Regions from separate parts of the Homo sapiens genome. Here all the other regions are linked to region 1. The links are contacts of gene promoters, found by promoter capture Hi-C in blood cells and fetal thymus (Javierre and others, 2016). All regions are on one chromosome and are shown on one strand. Each heading gives the region's core, a stretch centred on a gene start or on the middle of the fragment in contact. The rest is flanking DNA. Distances are from core to core; before and after follow the strand shown.

What was found. Contacts are between HindIII fragments. The CHiCAGO score rates a contact against its expected background, and 5 or more counts as called.
Region 2: a fragment that was not itself captured here is called in contact with the fragment with the promoter of RASGEF1B in region 1 in 2 of 17 cell types (naive B cells and M2 macrophages); the score reaches 7.6 in naive B cells.
Region 3: a fragment that was not itself captured here is called in contact with the fragment with the promoter of RASGEF1B in region 1 in 8 of 17 cell types (endothelial precursors, total CD4 T cells, monocytes and 5 more); the score reaches 6.8 in endothelial precursors.
Region 4: a fragment that was not itself captured here is called in contact with the fragment with the promoter of RASGEF1B in region 1 in 1 of 17 cell types (total B cells); the score reaches 5.9 in total B cells.
Region 5: a contact is called between a fragment that was not itself captured here and the fragment with the promoter of RASGEF1B in region 1, in 1 of 17 cell types (erythroblasts). The highest score is 6.5, in erythroblasts.
Region 6: a fragment that was not itself captured here is called in contact with the fragment with the promoter of RASGEF1B in region 1 in 1 of 17 cell types (total B cells); the score reaches 5.8 in total B cells.
Region 7: a contact is called between a fragment that was not itself captured here and the fragment with the promoter of RASGEF1B in region 1, in 7 of 17 cell types (neutrophils, naive B cells, naive CD4 T cells and 4 more). The highest score is 10.3, in neutrophils.

What each region holds. Positions count from the first base shown.
Region 1 is chr4:81,469,770-81,473,187 of GRCh38, reverse strand. It overlaps RASGEF1B (RasGEF domain family member 1B), which reads left to right and starts at 1,281. Exons shown (of 14, transcript NM_152545.3): 1 at 1,281-1,418. RefSeq lists a silencer at 940-1,349. The HindIII fragment of the contact is 14,883 bases long and covers 1-3,418 here.
Region 2 is chr4:82,364,489-82,368,091 of GRCh38, reverse strand. All of the region lies in intron 2 of HNRNPD (heterogeneous nuclear ribonucleoprotein D), which reads left to right. Among named protein-coding and RNA genes, the nearest start is that of HNRNPD, 7.7 kb to the left of the region's middle. RefSeq lists an enhancer at 1,551-2,222. The HindIII fragment of the contact is 2,515 bases long and covers 30-2,544 here.
Region 3 is chr4:82,232,873-82,236,729 of GRCh38, reverse strand. No RefSeq gene overlaps it. Among named protein-coding and RNA genes, the nearest start is that of HNRNPD, 140 kb to the left of the region's middle. The HindIII fragment of the contact is 2,899 bases long and covers 508-3,406 here.
Region 4 is chr4:82,340,370-82,344,191 of GRCh38, reverse strand. No RefSeq gene overlaps it. Among named protein-coding and RNA genes, the nearest start is that of HNRNPD, 32 kb to the left of the region's middle. The HindIII fragment of the contact is 1,120 bases long and covers 744-1,863 here.
Region 5 is chr4:82,249,664-82,253,498 of GRCh38, reverse strand. The region is part of intron 1 of LOC105377308 (a long non-coding RNA gene); the gene reads left to right. Among named protein-coding and RNA genes, the nearest start is that of HNRNPD, 120 kb to the left of the region's middle. The HindIII fragment of the contact is 8,771 bases long and covers 1-3,835 here.
Region 6 is chr4:82,270,565-82,273,975 of GRCh38, reverse strand. All of the region lies in intron 1 of LOC105377308 (a long non-coding RNA gene), which reads left to right. Among named protein-coding and RNA genes, the nearest start is that of HNRNPD, 100 kb to the left of the region's middle. The HindIII fragment of the contact is 217 bases long and covers 1,418-1,634 here.
Region 7 is chr4:82,291,279-82,295,005 of GRCh38, reverse strand. It overlaps the pseudogene VAMP9P. Among named protein-coding and RNA genes, the nearest start is that of HNRNPD, 81 kb to the left of the region's middle. RefSeq lists a silencer at 1,393-1,593. The HindIII fragment of the contact is 4,339 bases long and covers 1-3,723 here.

The sequences.
Region 1 (3,418 bases), core at 32-2,531:
CACCAAGTTCCCTTGGCCTTATGGCTTCTCATTTAAACTGCAGAGAAGCTATGGTTAAGTCAAAGGCTCAAGTAGGTTAGAGTGAATTACTGAATCAGAGGAGTCCTATTTACACAAAGGAGGGAAGGAGTATCATAAAGAGGAAGAAAAGTAAAAGGAGGCATAAATGAAGAAAATGAAAGAGGAATCCGCTAAGAATAGACAAAGTGAGCGTCAAAATGACTCCACCCCAGGAAGGAGAGGGGGAGGGACCCATGGAGCAGGAGGGAAAAGGATTCCTCCCCCTCAGTAATCTTAATTATAACAGTATAGGACAGGTATGAATAGTGTTGTTTTATATATGAGAAAACTGAAGCTCAGAAAAGCTGTATCACTTACTCAAGGAAATACAGTTGGTAAGAGTCTCCTAATTCTGTAAATTTTTTCTTTTCATAGGTCTCTTTCTTCCCTTGTTTCCATCATTATTTCCCTCTGGCCTCCTTTTATGTGTACAAAGTGAAGTACGGAGGTTTTTACCTTTTTTCTGAAATAGTTATCAAATATCCCATGATGGAGTGAGTACGTGGTTACCATGACAACACAGCCCTCACTGAGGACTAGCCTCCCTGCTTTGCCTCCGGAATCATGTTTCACGGAACAGGTTCCTCTCCGTGCAACTTCTAGCAGCTGTAATTCTACATTTTGTTTGGGTGATTATTTGCTGAATGTCTGTCCTCCACTAGACTATGTAAGTTTCACAATGGCAGAGACCAGCCTACTTTGCCAAGTGTGCCCCCAGCGTTTTGCACAGTGCTTAGCACCAGGATCTATGTGTTATTTGCTAAGCAAATGTTCTGTGGTTCCTCTCCGCTCTCTTCTGAAAGTTACATGGACAGTAACCTTTAGCTCACAATTATGTTAATAAATACTGTGTAACGAGTCGGGCCGGTATTTACAGATAGTATACACGTGAATGAACACACACACACTCACGACTGCACAACAGCCCGGGGCAGGTGCACTCAAGAGGAAACGCGCACAGTCGGAGCCAGCCTGACCAACGCTGTTAAACACCGCTGCGCTGGGCTCCGCGGGCCTCTGCCGCGTGGGAGGGCACCCAGGCTGACGCGCTGCGGGAGTCTGGGGCCCACTGGGACTTGCCTGCCGGGCCGGGTGGCGGCGGCGTGGGCGGTGAGCTGCGCGGTGATTGGCCCGCGCCTGCCGGGGCGGGGCGGGGCTGGCAGCGGGAGGCAGGCGCCTGAGCCAAGGGGGGCGTGCGCGGCGGCGGCTGCCGTAGTTTCAGTATAAACAAGGAACCCGACTGGTTAGACAGATTTTGTTTTTCTTCTTCCCGCGCGCTTTAGCTCCCTGTCCTTTGGTCGCATTTGTGGGCGCGCGGCACGCAGCCGGGAGGCCGAGGACTCGGAGTTCACCTGCAGGTAGGTTGTTCCCTGGCTGGGTTGTTCTCCCGGCTGGGGGACCACAGCCCGGAGCGGGAACTCCGGACCCTACTGCGCGCTGCGCTCTCCCTGGAGATCCCTGGGCCGCGCGGGGAGCGAGCGGGGCTCAGAGACTTCACCGGCTGCCGGGTGCGCTCCGAGGCGGCGGGAGATCCCGAGGCGAGTGAGCGCGAACGCGGGCGCCAAGAGCCGAGTTACAGCCCGGGACCGGGGGAGGGCCCCTGCCCGGCCGCTGCGGGTACCTGGGACTGCCGCGGCCCCAACAGGTGCGAGGCCGAGCCGCTGGGACCCGGGCAGGGCCAGGCTTGGGTTGGGTTGGGTTGTGCCTTCCCTCTTTCTCCCTGATCCTGCAGCCAGGCCTTCTGTCTCGAGATAGGTGGTTTTTGAGGATTTGTCTTGAGTTGTAATCGCGTCCATCATTTTTTTCATCCCTTCTTTCCTTCGTGTGCATACCTAGGTTGATTCTTCCACTTCTTGACCAGTTTTGTGTGCGTGTGTGTGTAGGGGGAGCTGTTTATTTTTGTTGTCAGTGCCATGTAATCTAAAGTCTGACTCGTAGGAAGGGACAAGGGAACAGAAGTCACATACTCGCCACCGACAAGGTGATGTGCTGTCATCCTTCGGTGTTCACCTGGCAAACTTGGGAGACACTGAGTCGCCTTGCTTTTGCCAGAGCTCAGTTGAGTCGCCTCGGGTCACCTGCCTGGGGAATCTCAGATGAGCTAGAGGTATCTAGGAGCCTCGCGGGCAGTCAGCTTAAGGGAGGTTCTTTCTAAGGGAGCTGTGAAAACAACTTAAGTGCTGCACCAGGGAAAAGGGCGAGACGGGGGCTGGGGTGCGCGCGCCTTTGTGTGTGTGTATGGACGTACCATTTCAATACTGCTTGCTGTCTTGCCCCAACCAAATCGGCGCAGTTCAGGCAAAAGCAACGTAGCTTAATCCTCTGACACTGCCGAGGGTGGCACAAGTGTGGCAGATAACACAAGGAGATTGTCTAGACGGCGATTTTCTCTTCGGAATGTAGATGTGTCCATCCTCCCTGATGAATTCGGTGGATATGGTGTATATAGATGAATATGCACACAAATTTGTGTATGTGTTTGGGCCGAACGCGTCTCCAAGGAGTCCTTCGTCAGCACCATGTGACGACGGTCAGGAACTGCTGGTGTGTGTAGATCTATATTTAGCTCAGATGGTCTAATGGCCGAAGGGAGGGTCTCTGAACTGGGTGCATAAAGGGGAAGAGTCTAGGGATCAGGGTGGTGCACTCTTGAATGATGTCTGGCACAGTCACACTCAGATGGGGTGAATAATTGCCCTTTCCTCGTGAAAACAGTAGCTAGAGCTTGGCATGTGATGGCTATGCCTTAATTTAAAACATAGTTGGACCATGGCGATAAGCCTCTGCTAAGAAACAAGGAGGTTTACAGTTAAGCAGCGTATATACCTGGTTGGCCGTTTGGGTGAAAATAACTGGTCCCATGAGATTTAGAACAAATATAGAGTTGCTTTCTTTAATAAAAAGAAATAAAAATTATTTGCTGTTGAGGTTTTCATAACAGAAAAAAAGAAGGCAGCTTGTTAAACCCTATCATTAAAGGTAATTTTATTTTTTTAAGTGAGGGGCAGTGGTGGAGCTAGAGAGGAGGACCTTAGGGCACTTTTGACAGATATCAGGGTTTACAAACAGCGTTATATTATGCCTCTCAAGCAGATTTTCTGGTGAAGATGAGATCAGCCACTGATTAACAAGTTTCTTGTTGGCATTCTTCCACTGCATGTCGGGTCAATCCTTTGTTTTCTTGGAGGTGGGCAACATTTCTAACTACTAAGCATATTGGCCTTGTACTTTCCAGTTGTCTAACGAAGTGTTACATTCTTAGAATTTATTTCTCCTATGGTGCATTTTCAGTCTTGCTTCATTTTATGTGCTCCACTGGATATTTTATCTGATACTAACACATCTAATACCTGGGAAT
Region 2 (3,603 bases), core at 38-2,537, 890 kb before region 1:
GTGAAACATAACTTATGTTAGTCCAAGCTTGATTTGACTTCAGTTCTGCTTCAACGTTTTAGTAGATAGGGCACTGAACTGGATGCTGAAAGCGTGGGATCTCTTTCTGTTGCTTCACTTCCAACAGTGTGGTTTCAGGTAATACGACATGTTTGTTACTTGGTTTGCTGATCTATGTGTTGGAAACAATGCTCACCACAGGAGGATTGACTACATAGCCTGCTTTCATAGCTTGTGTGTATTTATCCAGTGCCCTAATAGTTGATACTGCCAGTGATTTACTCCTGTGGAGTAAAGGTAAGCATGTTTTAGTTTCTGGAGTATTATATTGTACGTTGGAGCTAGGTATTTAAGAATATTTGGGGGTGGGGAGGGAAGACTCCAATTTACTGGTGGTGCTTGGCCAGTAATCAAGGTGACAGTTTAAGTATTGGGTCTTGCACTGTAAACTCCTGCTTATCTAGACTTCAGACTACCACAGAGCCCACACAGCCAGGAAGTCTGTCTCCCCATTTAGTCTTATGAGCAAGATAGATGAAGCCATGAGAAAATATACTCAAAAAGCAACCAACAGACAATGTCATGGAATGAATCTCCTACAGATTTTTCCTTACACTTTTGAAAAGTAACATGATTTTAAAACGTTGGAAAATTCATCAAGGTACAAATCATTTTCTGACTTCAGCATTGATACCTAAATTGATTTCCAGTACACAGTTTTATAGAATTGTGAATATGTAGTAATCTCAGTTAACCAGAACCTTAACCTTCAGGTTAAGGAAAATACCTATTCCTTAACCTCTAGGTAAATGGGAGTTTACCTTACAAAGCTGATTGAGAGCTTATTTAAAACGTAAACATACAAGATGTCATTGCTTCCTTGTAGTGAAGTGAAAAGGAGGTATTGGATTAAGCATTTAAAGTTAATTAAAGTAGTGGCTCGTGCCTGTAATCACTGGCTACTCAGAAGTCTTGAGGTATGAGGATCATTTCATGCCAGGATTTCTAGACCAGCTAGGCAACATAATATGACCCCTGTTTCTTTAAAAAAAAAAAAAAAAAAAAGGCTAGTGTGTTGGGGGGTGTGTTTGTAGTTGTAGTTACATCTACTCAGGAGGCAGAGGCAGGAGAATGTGTTGAGCCCAGGAAGGAGCTCAGGGCTGCAGGAAGCTATGATGGAGCCACTGCATTTTGATAGTGAGACCTGGTCTCTTAAAGTGTTTTATTTTTAGGCCAGGCGTAGTGGCTCACACCTGTAATCTCAGCACTTTGGGAGGCCAAGATGGGTGGATCACCTAAGGTCAGGAATTGGAGACCAGCCTGGCCAACATGGCGAAACCCCAGCTCTACTAAAAATACAAAAATTAGCCAGGTGTGGTTACATGCGCCTGTAGTCACTCAGGAGGCTGAGGCGGGAGAATCACTTGAACCCTGGAGGCGGAGGTTGCAGTGAGACAAGGTTGCACCACTGCATTCCAGCTTGGGCAACAGAGCAAGACTCCGTCTCAAAAAAAGAAAAAAAAAGTTTATTTAAAAAACTGTCATGTTGGCCGGGCGCGGTGGCTTATGCCTGTCATCCCAGCACTTTGGGAGGCTGACGCAAGCGAATCACCTGAGGTCAGGAGTTCGAGACCAACCTGGCCAACATGTTGAAACCCTGTCTCTACTAAAAATACAGAAATTAGCCGGGCATGATGGTGGGCATCTGTAGTCCCATCTACTTGGGAGGCTGAGGCAGGAGAAGAGCTTGAACCCGGGAAGCAGAGGTTGCAGTGAGCCAAGATCGCGCCACCGCACTCCAGCCTGGGCGACAAAGCGAGACTCTGTCCCCCTCCCAAAAAAACTGTCATGTTTCATTTATTAGATGTTTATTTTTTCAACTTCGCTTTTTAGTAGTCATTTAGTTAGGTTCATTCTAAAGTGTGAAGTAATGAGATTTAATACAGAGAAGTCTCTGAAAATGTTTGGTCCATTGTATATTAGTCTTGAATAAATGGAATTCTTTTTCACACTTACCTTGAAAATGTCATCTGTAGAAAGCTGGGGGAGAGGAATACCTATTCTTTAATGATGGGGAAATAATACCAAAATTTATATTTTTATTGACTAAAGTGTTTTTTGGGGAAGATTTGTTATTGGCTAACCTTAATGTCTCATTAGTTTTAAATAGTTAAAAAAAGTGGGCTGGGTGCGGTGGCTCACGCTTGTAATATAGCACTTTGGGAGGCTGAGGTGGGCAGATTGAACCCAGGAGTTCCAGACCAGCCTGGGCAACATGATGAGATCCTGTCTCTACAAAAAAAAAAAAAAAAAAAAAAAATTAGCTGGGCCTCGTGGTGTGCACCCATAGTCTCAGCTACCCAGGAGCTTGAGATGGGAAGATTGCTTGAACTTGGGAGGCAGAGGTTGAAGTGAGCCAGGATCACACCATTGCACCACAGCCTGGCAATAGAGCGAGACTCTGTCTCAAAAAAGTGGTTTTCATGAATTTTATACCAGATCAGATCTAAAAAGGCTGGTTAGTATTTGAACTCGATGAAAGCTTGTCAAGCTCTCTCCCAAGGTAGTTTTCATACAACTTGTAAAATACCCTAACGTGTGATATTATCTAGTTGCATTGTAACCTCCTCCCTTCCCCTTAGGTAACTAGTGACTTAGCTTTAGTTTGTCATTTTAGGATTTTAGAAGAATAATTATGATGGATAAAATACTGGAAAAATTCAGTAAGGATTTAATGGTGTGCTTGAGTAACATTACTTTAAAAGATGACAGTGATTGGTCATTTATGTTTTATACCTGAAATGTATATCAGGTTGACATTCTGTTGTATTTTTTAAACTGTCAGAACTTGTTATAAAGCCATGTATGTAAGATCATAAGTTGTTAGGAAGTGTTTAAAAGTTAAAGGATTGGCTGGGTGTGGTGGCTCATGCCTGTAATCCTAGCACTTTGGGAGGCTGATCGCTATGTCCAGGAGTTCTGTGACTAGCCTGGGTAACAGAGCAAGATCTCGTCTCTAAAAAAGTAAAAATAATACGAAGTTATAGAACATAGAAAAAGAATACTATTCCAAAATTGGGAGTGAGTATAATGGCTAACTTTTTACCTTGAATAAGGTGTTTGACAATAAAGACTTATTAGGGGAGGTATCTTGGAATAAAATAGTTAATATTGACTGGGAATGTTAAAAACCTAGTGACCTAAATAGTCCAGAGAATAAGTTTATTGATGGGGAAAAGCCAGGATTATTAAATCGGAACATTTTCCACCAGCCAGGATTGCTCCATGTATATTTCCTTTTATGTTTTAAATTATTCTTTACTAAAATTACTGGCATAAATGTAGGGTAGACCAAGTCATCAAGGTGATTTTGGAAGCTACATTTAAAGGGTCTTAGTTGAAATACCACCTAATTTTTAGTTTATATATTTTTTTACATGGACTATTTAAAAATTTCTGGGTTATTTCAAGTTGGCAGCATTGAAAATATTAGAATATGTTTATATAAAACTCATTGTGGCCTTTTCCTTTTAATGTTGGAAAGTTTATAAAGCCTATGCAGTTTTAAAAAATTAAGCCATTGAGTAAATAAAAAGTTTGCTT
Region 3 (3,857 bases), core at 708-3,207, 760 kb before region 1:
TTCCTGTCCGTGTGTCCAAATTTCTCTCTTCTTTTAAAGATACCAGTCACTGTATTAGGGCCCACCGTAACTCAGTATGACCTCATCTCAACATCTGCAAAGACCCTATTTCCAAATAAGGTCACATTCATGGGTATCGGGAGTTAAGACTTGAACATATCTTTTTGGTGGACACAATTCACCCCGTAACATAAATATGTATATTTAAGTCACCTAAGTCTAAAATTAGCCAATGTCTTTACTTTCCTTTAGACAACATAATGATGGTAGAACATTTCACTGCTTTCTGTCTCCTTAACTTATGTGGTATCATTGCTGTTTTTCTTTACCACACAAGTCCTTTTTATTATTGTGTTTATAGTCTGCATTTGTTTAGATTTAAGCATGCATTTGCCACTTTGGTTATCAATCCATTATCTTCTTGTCCACATTATTGCTGTTGCGTAGTCAGCTCACAGTCCAATTGCCATTCCTCTGCCTTTCATTAGGGTGTTTTTTAAAAAAGCTTTACTTTTTCTTTTCTGTTCTACAGTTTCAATATAATTTGTTTAGCTGTGTTTTATATATCTTGTTTGAAATTCATTGGAATTCTCGAATCTGTGGATTGGTATCTTTTTATCAGTTCTGGAAAATTCTTAGCTATTATATCTTCAAATATTGCCTCTACTCTCTCTCCTCTCCCTTAAAAAAACTCTCCTATTAGAGGTTTATTTTTAGTCCCTTTCATTCTTTCTTCCATGACTCAATTTTATTTCATATTTTTCATCTTTTTGACTCTGTTTTCTATTGTGGATAATTTTTTTTCAGATTCATCTTCTAGTTCACTAATTCTTTTGTCAACTATGATACAGTTTTTTCAAATCTACTTGGAGATTTTTATAGTGTGGTGCTCTTATGTTTTCAATGCCTTCATTTATTCTTTATATTATACTATGTTGTATTATACTTATAGCAAGATGCATCAGAGTATTCTAATAGCTGAGGTCTTGCAGATCTGATTCTGCGAACTGCTCTTTCTGCCTCTAGCATATGTTGTTCCTGTATGTGTTCTGTATCTCTTTTGTATGTATTATGAACTCATATTTTTTTGAACTTATCTGTGATCATTCCTTTTAGTTTAGGCTGAAGGTAGCTTACATCATGGAGGATTTGCCCTTGTATCAGGTAACTGCAGGTATCACCAGCCTGGGGCTATTTTAAATTCTGAGTGAAGTTGAATTTTTTAGGTAGGAATTTGGGCTGCTATGAGGGCCAACTTGTAGATACAAAAATTCTCAGGGTTGATATTTAACACCAGGATTGAAATTTCCCTTTTGGAGATCTGGTTTTGTTTTTCTACTCCACATGAATTTTGAGGGTGTAGTTTCTTTGGGGATAGGCAGTTCCTGCTCTGTGTGGGACCATCTTCTATGTGCCTCACTTCTTGGGATGGCTTGTCATTGACTTCTATCCTCTATGGCCTGTGTGTTAGTCCAGTCTCACACTGATATGAAGAATTACTGGAGACCGGGTAATTTATGAAGAAAAGAGGTTTAATTGACTCGCAGTTCCACAGGTTTACAGAAAGCATGACTGGGAGGCCTCAGAAAACTTACAATCATGGCGGAAGGCAAAGGGGAAGAAAGGACCTTCTTCACATGGTGGCAGGAGAGAGACAGAGAACAAGGGGAAAGTGTCACACACTTTTAAACCATCAGATCTTGTGAGAACTCACTCACTATCACAAGAACAGCAAAAGGGAAATCCACCCCCATGATTCAATCACTTCCCACCAGACCCCTCCTCCAATTCGACATGAGATTTGCGTGGGGACAGAAAGCCAAGCCAAATCAGCCTGTGAGGCCTTGAAACTCTCATGGCTCAGCTTCATACAGTTCAGTGAATCCTTCAAGGTGAAAGGCAGCTTCTGTGTTCTTCCTCTCTGGTCACCATTTCCACCAAGTGTTTTTTTCGCTCTGAATATTTATTACTAATTGGAATACTCAGCTTGTCATTTAGAAGACTAAAAATATTTTATTCAGTGTTGTCTATTGTTTACAATGGTAGTGTTAGCCATAGTACTTAGTCATCCATGTTGCTAGAATTGGAAATGCAACACCTTAGTTTAATTGGCTCTTATCTTAATTGCTACATTTAATTGGCTCTTATGTTAAGTGCAGTTGAAAGCTAGCTGACTTACATGCTATTTAGTATTTTTTTAATTTAATTTTTTTATGCCTTGCCCCCTCTGTGTGAAAGTATCTTATAAGTAGGGACTCTGTCTCATAGTTATTTATTTATCTATCCTTTATTTTCTGGAGTGATTTAAAATTTCCTTCTTTTTGTTCTATGAACACCATCAAAAATTCCATTGTGGTGTAATCTACATTGTATCATACAGATTGGATATTACATCCAGAAATTGACACAAAATAATTTCTCAGATAATGTCTTGATATGTACTATGTAAAATATGACCACCATCTTAGATGATTTCTGTGTTTTTGTTTCTAAAGACTGTACACATAAAACAGATCCAAGTGTATAAAAAGTTCGCATGGATGCATAAAGATACGTTTGCAGTTCTACGCTTCAGGTAAGTGGGTTTGTGAGGAAGTCTGGTACATGGACTTGGATGTCAGACTGGCCTATTTGGGTTATGCTTTTTCTGCACTGTACTAACTACATGTACTTGGTAAATGACTTAATTTCTTGACCTTCAGTTTCCTAATTTGCAAGATGGGGACAATCATTCTGATCTTGTGGAGTTGTTTTATTAATAATGTTTGCAAAGAGTCTGTCAGATGGTAGGCACTCCAATTATTATTATAGTTGACTTGACCATTTCCGAGGGCATCTAGCCTAGTAGCAACTTGATTTTTAGGTATCCAAGCCCTACCACTAGGCTCCTAATAGTCACATTCTTAGTTAAGACTATCCATGTACCTCCTGGATTACTCTGCTCCTATCTGTCAGTCCCATAGCAACTACCCATTTTATGGGCCAGCACCCTAAATGGGAGTAGGAAGTCAAGTAGATGTTGCAACAGGTGCAGCCTTGACCCTCATTCTCTAGGCTTCTGTGTCTTGGTGAATGTGGCTGCTTCCAGGTGTTGCATGGTGAATATTACTATGGCAGAAAATCCCTTGTTCCTTTTTAGTTAATCAACGGAAGAATATTCTTTGAATTTCTTATTAAGACCAAGCCATTCAATATTACTTCTAGTCACTGGTGAAATTTATTTAAGAAGATAGGGAGACTTTGCCAGAGGGTGACCTTCATGAGTTTGTCTTTTGCTTTCTCAACACAGACTCAAGGAGAAGTCCTGAGAATAGCCTGGAAGCCTAAGGCTGTAGAACTTATTGTCGTTCCTCAGGCCACTTACACCTTAACCAAATATGAAGAAAATTGAAATTCAAAATAAGCTTTGATGAAGTCACCATTTTTCCTCATTTACTTCTACATTTGATGTGTATAGTCAATAGTGTTTGATAATATTCATATGACTACTTCATGTATTATTACCACTTATTCATTTAAAATCTAATTTATCTATAGGGCAAGGGTTTACTTGTGAAAACTCTGATTCTAGAAACCATTAGAACTTTTCAAATACAGATTTTCAGTGCACTTCTAACCACTTCAAGGCTGGCTTCCAAATCTGTCCTAGTGGTACTATGGAAACATTTTAGTGTTGTGCATGAGTCATATAATTATAAATTATAACCTCTTGCTCATTTTGATACTTTTGGTATTCTTAAAAAAACTTGAAAGGGCAGGGAAAATGCTTCACGGGGAAAAACAATATAGTAATTTTCTTTTCTTTTCATTGAATCAATGTCAATTTATTTTAATTATTCTTTATTTGCTTTATTTAA
Region 4 (3,822 bases), core at 54-2,553, 870 kb before region 1:
GACCAGCCTGGCCAACATGGTGAAACCCCATCTCAACTGAAAAAAAAAAAAAAAAAAAAAAAAATTAGCTGGGCGTGGTGGCAGGTGCCGGTAATCCCAGTTACTTGGGGGGCCAAGGCAGGAGAATCACTTGAACCCGGGAGGCGGAGGTTGCAGTGAGCCAAAATCGCGCCATCGCACTCCAGCCTGAGGGAAAAGAGTGAGACTTCGTAAAAATAAATACATAAATAAATCAGAGGCCAGAATTTAATGGTTTTTGTTATTCTAGGTTCTGCCATGATTCTGTGAGATTCTCTGAGAGGCCTTGATCCTATAGTGGGATAATATAAACTTTCAAAACAACTTAAAATAATCCTTTTTAGACTTATTAAAATATGTGGGGCATTCTATTTAGCAGATTTTTAAAAGTTTCTAGTTTAATACATTCAGTGGAATAGATTATTTCAAATGAATGCTTTTGTGGCCCAGCTCTGTCATTTGCCCAGTGATATTGGGTAAATTAACCATCTCCAAGCCTCAGTTTTTCCAAGTGTAAAATTATATTACCTTTCTTAGGAATGGACATTAAATGATAGTCATGTAAAAGTGCTTGAGGTTAGCAGTTCTCGGCCTCATTGTGAGGTTAAACAAACATTTTGAGGCCCCATCCCAGGCTTATGCAGAATCCTCAGGGGTGGAGCCGAGGAACATGTATTATTAAGATCATTAGGTGACTCTGATGCTGAGAATTGAAAACCAAAGCTTCACATTTGTTGATATTAACCATGTTTAAGAGCTATGGAAATCATGCATCTGAAAATACCAAATGTTAATACTTACATGTGCTGGGCATACTGAATACAAAGAGGAGTGTGATGTGGCCAGGCTCGGGAGTAGAGACAGCCATCAACCATGATAGAAGGAGTACCCTTTCTCGAAGTTTGCCTCGGCACCCTCAGGGAACTCCCTACTTTTGCTTCTGCAGCTCTTCTGGACTTCCTTGGCTGATGAACCTTCAGGAGATTTGACACAGAAGCCCTATGATTTTGGTGACTAATTAGGAAAGAGAAGATGAGCAGAAGGGAGGAGTCAAGGTAGGCTAAGAGTTTGTAGATTACAGGATAGCTGTGATCCCATTTATTGAGATTGGAAATCAAGTCAAATAAGCAGGTTTTGTGGGGGAATGGAAGAATGTATAGTTTGGGGATCTAAACTTAAGTGTTTGCGTGGTATCCAAGTGGGTATATCTAGTAGAGAATTGGGAAATGATTTGGAATTCAGAAGAGGGGTTAGATCTGGAGAGAGCAACAGCATGGGAGTGAATAAGAGCACGTTGCAGAGTGGGAAATGAAGAGAACCCAAGACAGAGTTCTGCTGCAGGCCACTTGAATGACTGAAAGATAACATAATTGAACACCACCAATGCATAGTCCACCTTGTGCACCCCCACAGCAAGCTGTTCCTCTTACTAGTGCAGTAGACTTGGGCATTTATGCTTCTGTTTTCTCATGTGTAAAATGGAAATAACAGTAGTGCCTACATCAGGGTTGTGAGAATTAAAGAAGGATTTCTAAAGTACTTACAACAGTTACTGGAACACAAGTGCTCAATAAGTTAATTGTTATTGTTAACTGCACTGCCTTTACCTATTGATATAAATTCGATTTATGACACTTCATGGTAGAAATAAATTCGATTTCTAATAAGATCCAATTCCTATCCCACTTACAACCAATGGAATCTTCCTCAGTGATTTGAGCCTGTGTTGATCATCATCTCTTAACTTATTCTCTGCCATGCAATGTACCACTTAAATATTGATGCTGTTGCTTTAACCTGTTTATGATATTTGTTGGACTTCTTCCTTCAACTGGAATGTAAGCTTTCCTAAAGGATTAGAGATAGGCCTTAGGGTTTTTTATTTTTATTTTTTGAGATGGAGTCTCACTCTGTTGCCCAGGCTGGAGTGTAGTGGCGCAATCTCAGCTCACTGCAACCTCCGCCTCCCAGGTTCAAGTAATTCTTCCTGCCTCAGCCTCCCGAGTAGCTGGGAATACAGGTGTCTGCCACCACGCCCAGCTAATTTTTATTTTGTATTTTCAGTAGAGACAGGGTTTTCCATGTTGGCCAGGCTGGTCTTGAACTCCTGACCTCAGGTGATCTGCCTGCCTCGGCCTCCCAAAGTGCTGGGATTACAGGTGTGAGCCACTGAGCCTGACCAGGTCTTACATGTCTATATACAAACATCATTCTATTTTTTCAAACATCAGTTATTTCTATCTATGTAGTAGCTTAGGATAAACCATAATGTTTTAGAATTGTTTTGGTGCAGAGTAGGAGCTCAATACTATTTGAAAGCATAAATAGATGAAAAATCCAAGATCACTTAATATTTGTTTCTGCCAAGCTATGTTCTGACAGTTCTAGCATAAATACCAGGGAAACAATCCTTACTAGGCAGCATTCGACAGCCCATAAAAATATAAATTATCTTGAAAACTCTTAAACTCTAAAGACTGCCTTAGAAAACAAGTATTATGTAGGACTTCTTGCTTGGAACCAGGGTGATAGCCTGTGCTTTAAGCATGCTACCAGTGAAGAGAAAATCTCAAAGACACATAATTCACTTAGACTTTTGGTCTTGATATCCTAACATGTAAAGTGCAAGAGGTTAGATTAGGTGATCTTTAAGTTCACAGTTCTCTAGCAATAATTATGCTACTAACTGGTGATCAGGATACAAATATGTTTTATACATAATTTTACTTTACAGAGATGTTAAGGGGCAAGTTTTATAGGGCTTCGAAAATAACAGCAGCAAAATACATGACTATTCCTCTTCCAACTACTCTTGTCTCTACCCTGCCAAAACAACCTACTAAACTGACAAGAAGTGAAATAATACGATGTATCTTGTCTGACCCATAATTAAGGGATCTTAATTATTACTCTATGGGTTCCATGGCTATATGCCACAGTAGGGCTTATCTTAGCAGTCAGTAAAATCTTAGCTTTCCAGCTGTGTGACCTTGAACATGCCATTTAACTTTGCTATTTTCTCATCTGCAAAATAAAGCTGATAATATGAACTAACTTACACAGCACTTTTATGCCAGCCACTGTTCTGTGTGCTTTATGTGATACTCGCTTAATAGTATTATTGTAAAATTAAATGAGACACCCCTCTTCCAAGATACTTAGTACATTGTATCAGAGTAAGCAGTCAACATATCGCCTATTTTTTCCTGAGTCTGAACTACAGAAACTCCAAAGTTTCTAACATTTAAGATCCTTTAAAAAATATTTTGTGAATGGAAAGGTGGTATTGCATTGGAGGAATAATGAGCTTGGTGGCTATTTAAAATGCTGGTATTTGATCATTACCAGAATTAAAATGAGTTATCCTGAAGTCAGGATGTCTGTTCCTCAGGAATCACTAAGGGACTTATAAAACAGACTTCAGACCTCAGTTTCCCACTTGGGAAACAGAACCCATGACGCCTTGTTACTAACTGCAAAGTAAAGTTGGATGCTTTAGTTATTTGAAATCTTAATAAGTTGAGGTTACTGGAGGAAGTGTATTTTTTTAAAGGCTGTTAGGATGGTGAGATAGGAGGAGAGGACCTATGTCCTCTCTCTATGATTTGTTAGAGAAAATGATATGACTTACTAATTTTTTAATCCTTACACAAGGAAATACATAGTATAAAACATGATAGTTTGAATTTTCATTTCAAATGAAAAAACTGTAGAAGAGGTGAATGTGTATCTCTGAACTGTACTGATGTTAAAATTCTCATTTCTAAAATCTGATTTTAAGGTCAAAGTCATTTCACTTCTGGC
Region 5 (3,835 bases), core at 25-2,524, 780 kb before region 1:
AGTACCATCATAGGTTCCAGAGTACTTGCTTGTCATGGACTCAGATACATGTCTATGTAGAACTGAGGAATCAGAAAGTTGAATTAGGCGGAGCAGAGAATGGAAGATACATGGGCTTTAGTGTCAGTCTTGGGTTTCTATGCTAGTTCTGTTGTTTACTAGTTATATGGTTTTGAGTATATTACCTGAAATCACTTAGTATCTTTTTTAGGCTATAACATGAGATTAACATAATAATAACATGTACCTCAAAGTAAAATTGTGAGGAATTAATAAGAGAATTTATGTAGAGGGTCTGGCAAGTGGCAGATGCTCAGTAGATGTTAGTTTCCTTTTCACATGTGTGTCCATACCCAAATAGCTTGTATGTAGAGCTTTACTTCTGCAAACTTCTATAAGGTGATACAGCAAATGAACAAAGACACCAGGTACCTTAATAAATTACAAAAAAAGCTAATCATTAGGGCAATTCTAGTTGGGGTGGAGGGAGGTTATACATTCACCTGAAACTCTTGCCAAAATCAAAGATGGACTTTCTTCTTTCAGCCAGTGATCTTTCAACATTTTTGCTTGCATGCTCTCTTCAAGCATTTTGAAAAAAACAAACACAAAAATAGCTATGTATTCCACATACATTTTAGAGTTGACATCTAAAATTAATCATCATAAGTTTAAATAGTTGCAAAGGATGTAATTTCTGGCATATATAAATATTGCCATTTGAAAATAAAACTATTGTTTATCTATCATAGATTAGAATATTTAAAGCAAGAAGCAAGAAGCACACTGGGAAATACCAATTTACAAGGTGGACCATTCTGAATTTTTACAGTTCTTAGTGAGAAACAGCTTGGTGAGGACTTGCTTTCCCAGCATCTCATTCTGTGTCCTGGGTGCTCCTTTAGGTTTATTTCAAGGAAGAGAAGGTGAAAGTTTACATATTTATTCCTGACAGTTCAACGCTGCATCTTTGAATAAAAGCTGGGGTTGGCAAACTTTTTTATTTTTATTTTTTTGAAGAGGAGTCTCGCTTTTGTCACCCAGGCTACAGTGCAATGGCACGATCTTGGCTCACTGCAACCTCTGCCTGTCGGGTTCAAGCAATTCTCCTGCCTCAGCCTCCCGAGTAGCTGGGATTACAGGCGCCTGCCACCACACCTGGCTATTTTTTTTGTATTTTTAGTAGAGACGGGGTTTCACCATGTTGGCCAGGCTGGTCTCGAACTCCTGACCTCAGATGATCCACCTGCCTCTGCCTTCCAGACTGTTGGGATTACAGGTGTAAGCCACCGCACCTGGCCGGCAAACTTTTTCTTTTCTTTTTTTTTTTCTTTCTTTATTTTATTATTATTATACTTTAAGTTTTAGGGTACATGTGCACAATGTGCAGGTTAGTTACATATGTATACATGTGCCATGCTGGTGTGCTGCACCCATTAACTTGTCATTTAGCATTAGGTATATCTCCTAATGCTATCCCTCCCCACTCCCCCCACCCCACAACAGTCCCTGGAGTGTGATGTTCCCCTTCCTGTGTCCATGTGTTCTCATTGTTCAATTCCCACCTATGAGTGAGAACATGCGGTGTTTGGTTTTTTGTCCTTGCGATAGTTTACCGAGAATGATGATTTCCAATTTCATCCATGTCCCTACAAAGGACATGAACTCATCATTTTTTATGGCTGCATAGTATTCCATGGTGTATATGTGCCACATTTTATTTCTCAAACTTTTTCTTAAAGGACAAAATAGTACATACTTTAGGCTTTGAGGGTCATACAGCCTCTGTTGTAATTACTCAGGTCTCCCATTGCAATGTGAATGCGGCCATAGGCAATACATAAATGAATGAACAGGCCTATGTTCCAATAAACTATGTACTCTTTTAGCAGTCACTCCTCATCTCCCCCATCACACTCATAACCCCTATGTCCCATCCTCTGCCCCCATCCCTAGGCAACCACTTACCTACTTTCTGTCTCTGTGCATTTACCTATGCTGGACTTTTGGAAGCCTAGAGCTCGCTCTGTGATTTTGTAAAAACCCAATTCTCTATATTAAATCTCTTTTTGCTTAAAATGCCTTGAGTGGTTTCTGTTTCTTGTACTGAACCCTAAGTGGTTCAGAGTTAAAGGAGAAAAATGAAGAATTTTCATCTTTTAAAGAAGAGGTTTTTGTTTTTTTTTTTTTTTTCTGAGAAGGAGTCTTGCTCTGTCGCCCAGGCTGGAGTGCAGTGGCATGATCTTGGCTCACTGCAACCTCTGCTTCCTGGGTTGAAGTGATTCTCCTGCCTCATCCTCCTGAGTAGCTGGGATTACAGGCATGTGCCACCACTCCCAGCTATTTTTTTTTTTTTAATGGAGTCTCGCTCTGTTGCCCAGACTGGGGTGTACTGGTGTGATCTTGGCTCACTGCAACCTCCACCTCCCAGGTTCAAGCTATTCTCCTGCCTCAGCCTCCTGAGTAGCTGGGATTACAAGCACGCACCACCACGCCCGGCTTAGTTTTGTATTTTTAGTAGAGACAGAGTTTCACCATGTTGATCAGGCTGGTCATGAACACTTGACCTTGTGATCCACCCGCCTCGACCTCCCAAAGTGCTGGGATTACAGGCGTGAGCCACTATGCCTGGCCTAATTTTTGTATTTTTAGTAGAGATTGGGTTTCACCATGTTGGCCAGGCTGGTCTTGAATTCCTAGCTTCAAGTGATCCGCCCTCCTCGGCCTCCCAAAGTGCTGGGATTACAGGCGTGAGCCACTGCGCCTGGCCAAGAGCTTGTTTTTTAATGAGTGATAATGAGTCTCAAATTGCTATATTTAGATTCGATTGTACACATGTTAAGACACCAATACAGCACGCCAAAAATTATCCTTTTAAACTAATTATAATAAAAATTTAGATGTTTCACTTAAAACTATGCAGAAGAGCACTAAAGTCCTAATGGCAAGCTCACTAGTTTTGCAAATTTCTTAGAGGTGAAATGCAAGTGCAGGAGTCTGAAGACTTGCTTCAGGCTGCACATGATTATCTCCAGAATGTTCTTGGAACCTAAGCCTTTGACTTTATACTTTCTGGCTTCATTCTTTAAAATATGTCTATTAGCATTACAAGTCATTTTTGTTTGATTCCTTAAATGTCAAAACACCATGTATTTATTATTTAAAACTTTCTAACAATACAGACATGAAGGTTCTACCTTTAACTACACTTTCTAGGGGTCACCGTGATTAACATATTTTATCCTTTGAGATCTTTCTCTGAGACAGGATCTGTAAGGGAAACTTACTCTGTATAGTAGATGACTTCTTGAGGTGTCTCCGAGGATCTAAGATCTACATACAAAATTAGTGTATTTCTTTGAAAGCCTAGCACAGTGCCCTACCTGTGGTACTTAAATGAATCTTTGTTGATACTCTTCTCCAATTTAAATGATTCAGAGCCGTGACAAGGAGTTAAAAAGTAAATCATTTAAGACATGAGTCTGAACTGCACATCTTTATAAGATCCTCTGCACAGCCAGTGCTTTTTTTTTTTTTGTAATTACGTTATTCACCTTTTAAAGAATGTGGATACCTATAACACAGAAATAACAAATGTCTTTTTTTGTCGTGTTATTTTTGTGATGTGAACAAAATGAGGTGATACTTTATGCTATATCATATTCAGTAAAAATAATACTGATAATACCTGAATTTATAATTGTTTTATTAAGTGCTTTATATTTTACTTCATAGGACTTTGAAATGTATCTTATTTGATCCTAGTGAGGCAGACTTAATAAGGTCATGCGCATTTTAGAGATGAGTAAATAGAGGCTAACAGAGGTTCATCAAC
Region 6 (3,411 bases), core at 277-2,776, 800 kb before region 1:
TCTTGACTCTTTATCCAACTTGCCAGTCTGTGTCTTTTAATTGGGACATTTAGCCTGTTTACACTTAAGGTTAATATTGTTATGTGTGAATTTGATCCTGTCATTATGATGCTAACTGGTTGTTTTGCCCATTAATTGATGCAGTTTCTTCATAGTGTCGATGTTCTTTACAATTTGATATGTTTTTGCAGTGGTTGCTACCAGTTGTTCCTTTCCATGTTTAGTGCTTCCTTCAGGAGCTCTTGTAAGGCAGGCCTGGTGGTGACAAAATCTCTCAGCATTTGCTTGTCTGTAAAGGATTTTATTTCTCCTTCGCTTATGAAGCTTAGTTTGGCTGAATATGAAATTCTGGGTTGAAAATTTTTTCCTTTAAGAATGTTGAATATTGGCCCCCACTCTATTCTGGCTTGTAGGGTTTCTGCAGAGATCTGCTATTAGTCTGATGAGCTTCCCTGTGTGGGTAACTCTACCTTTCTCTCTGGCTGCCCTTACCATTTTTTCCTTCATTTCAACCTTGGTGAATCAGGCAATTATGTGTCTTGGGGTTGCTCTTCTCAAGGAGTATTTTAGTGGTGTTCTCTGTATTTCCTGAATTTGAATGTTGGCTTGTCTTGCTAGGTTGGGGAAGTTCTCCTGGATAATATCCTGCAGAGTGTTTTCCAACTTGGTTCCATTCTCCTCGTCACCTTCAGGTACACCAGTCAAACATAGATTTGATGTTTTCACGTAGTCTTATATTTCTTGGAGGCTGTGTTCGTTCCTTTTTATTCTTTTTTCTCGAATCTTGTCTTCTCTCTTTATTTCATTAAGTTGATCTTCAATCTCTGATATCCTTTCTTTTGTTTGATTGATTCAGCTATTGAAACGTGTGTATGTTTCACGAAGTTGTCGTGCTGTGTTTTTTAGCTCCCTCAGGTCATTTGTGTTCTTCTCTACACTGGTTATTCTAGTTAGCCATTTGTCTAACCTTTTTTCAAGGTTCTTAGCTTCCTTGCATTGGGTTAGAACATGCTCCTTCAGCTCAGAGGAGTTTGTTATTACCCACCTTCTGAAAACTACTTCTGTCAATTTGTCAAACTCATTCTCTGTCCAGTTTTGTTCCCTTGCTGGCGAGGAGATGTGATCCTTTGGAGGAGAAGAGGCGTTCTGGTTTTTGGAATTTTCAGCCTTTTGCACTGGTTTCTGCCCATCTTTGTGGATTTATCTACCTTTGGTCTTTGATGTTGGTGACCTTTGGATGGAGTCTTTGAGTGGACATGCTATTTCTTTCTGTTTGTTAGTTTTCCTTCTGACAGGCCCCCTGCTGCCCATCTGCTGGAGTTTGCTGGAGGTCCACTCCCAAACCTGTTTGCCTGGGTATCAACAGCGGAGGCTGCAGAACAGCAAATTTTGCCGCATGATCTTTCCTCTGGAAGCTTTGTTCCAGAGGGGCACCTGTCAGATGCCAGCCAGTGCTCTCCTGTGTGAGGTGTCTGTCGGCCCCTACTGGGAGGTGTCCCCCAGTCAGGATACATGGGGGTCAGGGACGTACTTGAGGAGGCAGTCTGACCCTTAGCAGAGCTTGAACGCTCTGCTGAGAGGTCCGCTGCTCTCTTCAGAGCCATCAGGCAGGGACGTTTAAGTCTGCTGAAGCTTTGCCCACAGCTGCCCCTTTCCCCAGGTGCTCTGTCCCCAGGGAGATGGGGGTTTTATCTATAAGTCCCTGACTGGGTCTGCTGCCTTTTTTTCAGAGATGCCCTGCTCAGAGAAGGGAAATCTGGCAGTCTGGCCACAGCAGCCTTGCTGAGCTGCTGTGGGCTCCACCCAGTTTGAACTTCCCAGCAGCTTTGTTTACACTGTGAGTGTAAAACCACCTACTCAAGCCTCAGCAATGGCAGGCACCCCTCCCCTCACCAAGCTGGAACATCCCAGGTTGATCTCAGACTGCTGCTGTGCTAGCGGCGAGAATTTCAAGCCCGTGGATCTTAGTTTGCTGGGCTCCGTGGGAGTGGGGCCTGTTTAGCCAGATCACTTGGCTCCCTGGCTTCAGCACCCCTTTCCAGTGGAGTCAGCGGTTCTGTCTTTCTAGCATTCCAGGTAACACTGGGGTATGGAAAAAAAGAACTCCTGTAGCTAGTTCGGTGTCTGCCCAAATGGCCACCCAGTTTTGTGCTTGAAACCCAGGGCCCTCGTGGGGTGGGCACCGGAGGGAATCTCCTGGTTTGCAGGTTGTGAAAACAGTGGGACAAGCATAGTATCTGTGCCGGCGTTCCTCAGGCTCAGTCCCTCACGGCTTCCTTTAGGTGGGGGAGAAAATTCCCCGATCCCTTGCACTTCCCGGGTGAGGCGATGCCCCACTGTGCTTTGGCTCACCCTCTGTGGGCTGCACCCACTGTCCAACCAGTCCCAATGAGATGAACCAGGTACCTCAGTTGGAAATGCAGAAATCACCTGCCTTCTGTGTTGATCTCACTGGGAGCTGCAGACCGGAGCTGTTCCTATTTGGCCATCTTGCCACAGAATCCTACTGCCAACTATTTTATAAGACTTACTGAATATCCTTTCCCCACTCATTTTTTTTTTTTGAGGGATGGGGTCTCACTCTTATCACCCAGGCTGCAGTGCAGTGGGGTTATCATCACTCACTACAGCCTCGAACTCCTGGCTCCATCCTTCCATCTCAGCCTCCCAACTAGCTGAAATTATAGGCATGAACCACTGCATCTGGCTTCCACAGTAATTTGAAATGCCACTTTTACCGTAGGTTAAAGTCCCATATATATATATGACTTTATATATATATATGACTTTATATATATTGTATATTGTTCTATATATATATATTGTTCATTGGACTTTAGGGTTGATTTCTGTGCTCATTTCTGTGCTAATATCACAATGATTCGGTAATTGTAGCTTAAATGACTTTACATTTAACAATTTGGAGATAATTAATATATTTACAATATTCAGTCATTGAGTCTTCCCATCTAGAAACATGAGTTGTCTTTCTGTTTATTCTACTGACTTCCTATGATCTTTTTCATAAAGGCTTGACAAATTTTTGTTACATTTATTCTGGGATATTTTGGCTGTTCTTGTTAATGGAATTTGTTCTCCATAAGGTTTTCAAACTGGCTAATTTTGGCATGTAGAAAATCTATTAGCTATATTTAATTATTTGCATATAGTCCGTGCTCCATTATATTTTAATTTCCTTAAGGCCAGCGGCTTCCCATAGAGCTCAAAGAGCTTTGCTCAGCATGAACATGACATAGGATACTATTGCTGACTGTCATATTAGTCTTTTCCACTATGCTTAGCAACCAGTGGAGGAAACCTCAGGTAACAGTATTTGTGGAAACTGGATAATGATTCAAGGTAGCGTAGTAAGAAGACACTGAAGGGACTTTGGCATCAAGCATACCTGGA
Region 7 (3,727 bases), core at 305-2,804, 820 kb before region 1:
CTCCTACCTCAGCCTCCCGAGTAGCTGGGATTACAGGCATGTGCCACCATGCCTAGATAATTTTTGTATTTTTAGTAGAGACAGGGTTTCACTATGTTGGCCAGGCTGGTCTCGAACTCCTGGCCTCAAGTGATCTGCCTCCCATGGCCTCCCAAAGTGCTGGGATTACAGGTGTGAGCCACCACGCCTGGCCTATATATATATCTATATTTGAAGTCACTCACATTCTAAGACTGAATCAAGATTCTGACTAAATAGAAAATGCTATGTTTGGCTGGATGCGGTGGCTCATACCTGTAATCCCAGAACTTTGGGAGGCTGAGGCGGGTGCATCACGAGGTCAGGAGTTCAAGACCAGCCTGGCCAACATAGTGAAACCCTGTTTCTACTAAAAATACAAAAAATTAGCCAGGTGTGGTGGCGGGCACCTGCAATCCCAGCTACTCGGGAGGCTGAGGCAGAAGAATCGCTTGAACCCAGGAAGTGGAGGTTGCAGTGAGCCAAGATTGCGCCATTGCACTCCTGCCCAGGCGAAAGTGTGGGACTCTGCCTGTAAAACAAAAACAAACACAGAAAATACTATGTTCATTGAATTTTAGTATGTCTATATTTTAGGTAGACATATTTAATTTTGGTACATCTTGGTTTTCTATACATTAGAATTAAAAATTTGTAAACTGCAAATACCAAATATTCAGGATGAGTTGGGGAGGGAGGAATGAATGTTAAAGTGAACCACAGTATGTTAAAATGAACCTTAGCATGACCACTCAACCATCTAGACCTTTCTGCCTTCTCAGAGTCCCACAGTAGGGGCTAGAATCCCCTTGGAAAGTGCCTCCATCCTTTACTGCCCAACAATCCAGAAAATGCAGGAATATGCAACAAAAATAGTTGCTTGGTGCCTAGACTTTAGTCTTTGTGAATACTATCTCTAAATGGTTAACAGGCAACAGACATGGTCAAATGCTAAATTGAATATATATGAGAATGAGGAAACTCAGAAACAGGAAGAAAAGATAATTTCAGAGGCAGAAAATTTAACATATGAACCCTTTCAGTGTAAATCCTTCACATCATATCATGAATACAATATGCTACAAATGTTTTTAATGATTATATTGATTTATACACATAATCTCCACCTAGAAAACATTTTTATTTAAAAATTTGGTGGAGTCCGCTGAAAAAGAGTTGCTAATTGTACCATCTATCTGAAAGTTACACATGTAATTTGAAGTAAATTGATACTGCATGTGAAAAAGAGATATTTTAAATTTATGCTTAGTATGTTATTAATACTATGAGTAATATTCAGAAAGCATCTATAATCTTAAAAACAACTTGAATATCTGATGTTCAGGAGATATCATTAATTGACAAAAGCCAGGTGGAGAAAAGTGTGCATGATGTGCTATCATTTATCTATCACATCATACGCTACCATAAGGGAAGTTCAAATGTACATACAGTAGTCTCTTATTTGTGGCTTCACTTTCTGTGGTTTCTGTTACTCATGGTCAACCGCAGTCCAAAAATAGGTGAGTAAAATGCAATGAGATGTTTTTGTGAGAGAGAGAAAGAAAGATGACATTTACATAACTTTTGTTACAGAATATTGTTATAATTGCTCTATTTTATTATTATTGTTGTTAATTTCTTATTGTACCTAATTTATACATTAAATGTTATCATATATGTATAAAAACACACAGTATATTTTATAGGGTTTGGTACCATCTGTGGTTTCAGGTATCCACAAGACTGGGGGTCTTGGAATGTATCCCCCTCAGATAAGGGAGGGCTACTGTATGTACTCTATATTGTGTTCTTTTTTTTGAGACAGGGTCTGGCTCTCTCACCCAGGCTGGAGTGCAATGGTGTAATCTCTGCTCACTGCAACCTCCACCTCCCGAGCTTAAGCCATCCTCCCACCTCAGCCTCCCAAGTAGCTGGGACTGCAGGTGTGCACCATTATACCCGGCTAATGTATTCTTATAGAATGTATTTCTTATAGGAAAAAAGAAAAGAAAAAAAGATAAACCAAAAACTTGTTCAAAATGGTTACCTACATAGGGGGAAAGAGTAGTAAGGAGAGGAACAGAATGCAAATTAGACTTCTCGAAGGAACTGTTTTGTAGATTTGACTTTGGTACTGCATATATATTTTGCATAATAAAAATGTTATTAATGAAACTTTTAAAAAAAGTAACCATTAGGTCCGGGCACGGTGGGTCACGCCTGTAATCCCAGCACTTTGGGAGGCCGAGGTGGGCGGATCACAGGGTCAAGAGATCGAGACCATCCTGGCAAACATGGTGAAACCATGTCTACTAAAAATACAAAAATTGCTGGGCATGGTGGCGCGCACCTGTAATCCCAGCTACTTGGGAGGCTGAGGCAGGAGAATCGCTTGAACTTGGGAGGTAGAGGTTGCAGTGAGCCAAGATTGCACCACTGCACTCCAGCCTGGCGACAGAGCGAGACTCCGTTTAAAAAACAAAGAAAAAAGTAACCATTAGAAATCAGAAACAAAATGAGAAAGATGGCTTTGTATTGAGTGATCAAGGCAGGAGATGATGGTGGCTTGGTTACTATTTGGAGAGGACAGGCAATGGGATTTGCCCATGGATTGGATTTCAATATAAAAGAGACAAGAGTCAAGAATACTATAGGTTTTAGGCCTGAGGAACTAGAAAAGTGATATGTGGAAGACTTCTGGAAGAGGCTTAGCTTTGGATATGTTTGAGATACTTTAATTAGACATTCAAGCAGAGTGGAACAAGTGGGTATACGAGTCTGGAGTTCAGAAAAAAAGGTCTTCAAAAGATTCAAATTAGAATGTAGAACACAGGTAAGCAAACAGCAAATAAGGAAAGTATCTCTTTTTAAAATCATTTCAGCTAATTTTGTCTGTGAATACAAAACTAGATTATTACCATTTTGCAATCCCTTATAAATTAGTGGCTCTTGGGCCTAGCAATGAGTATCGATAGCTGCTAACATCTCAAAAGGAGATATAATCAGATACCATGTACCATCTGATGCAAAAACACTCGTACTATAGTCCTGCTGAAGGGGTTGAGCCTCTGGGTTGGCTACTTGGTAAATGGTGACCTGAATTTTGAGTATGCAATCAGCAAACCTACACTGTGGGAAACTCTGTCAGTTCTTCAACAATAAACTGCAAGGGAAAAAGAAAAAAAGAAATGGAGGGGGAATAAGTGTATTTAAAGAGATTTAAAAGACATCAAATTAAAAAATGGGCAGGATTGGGCTCCCATCTGAGGATGTGTATTTGGGTGCTGATGCAATGAAGAAACAGGGAAATGACTACTATGGAAGCTGGGATGGTGTCTGATTTTGCTGGGATGGTGTTTGATTTTGCAGGGATGGTGTTTGATTTTGCAGAGATGGAGGAAGCGGTGAATGGGACAGGACATATGGTGGGGGTGGCTGGCAGTATTCCGTTTTCTTTGGCCTAGATGATAATTGCTGCTGGAGAGAGTCCCTTGCTACACTTCACAAAGCTATACATTCATTAGATGTGATATCTTTGTTTCTCTGTTTTACTTACGATAGAAAGGTTAAAACAAACCTACTCTAAAAAAAATGAAGAGCCTTAAAAATAATAGAATCTTTCTTTTCCCTCACTTCCTCCTTTACTAGCAACTGTTTTCAAGACTGATTTAGGCCATACCATGTAATGTCCTAAGTGAAGCTTAAG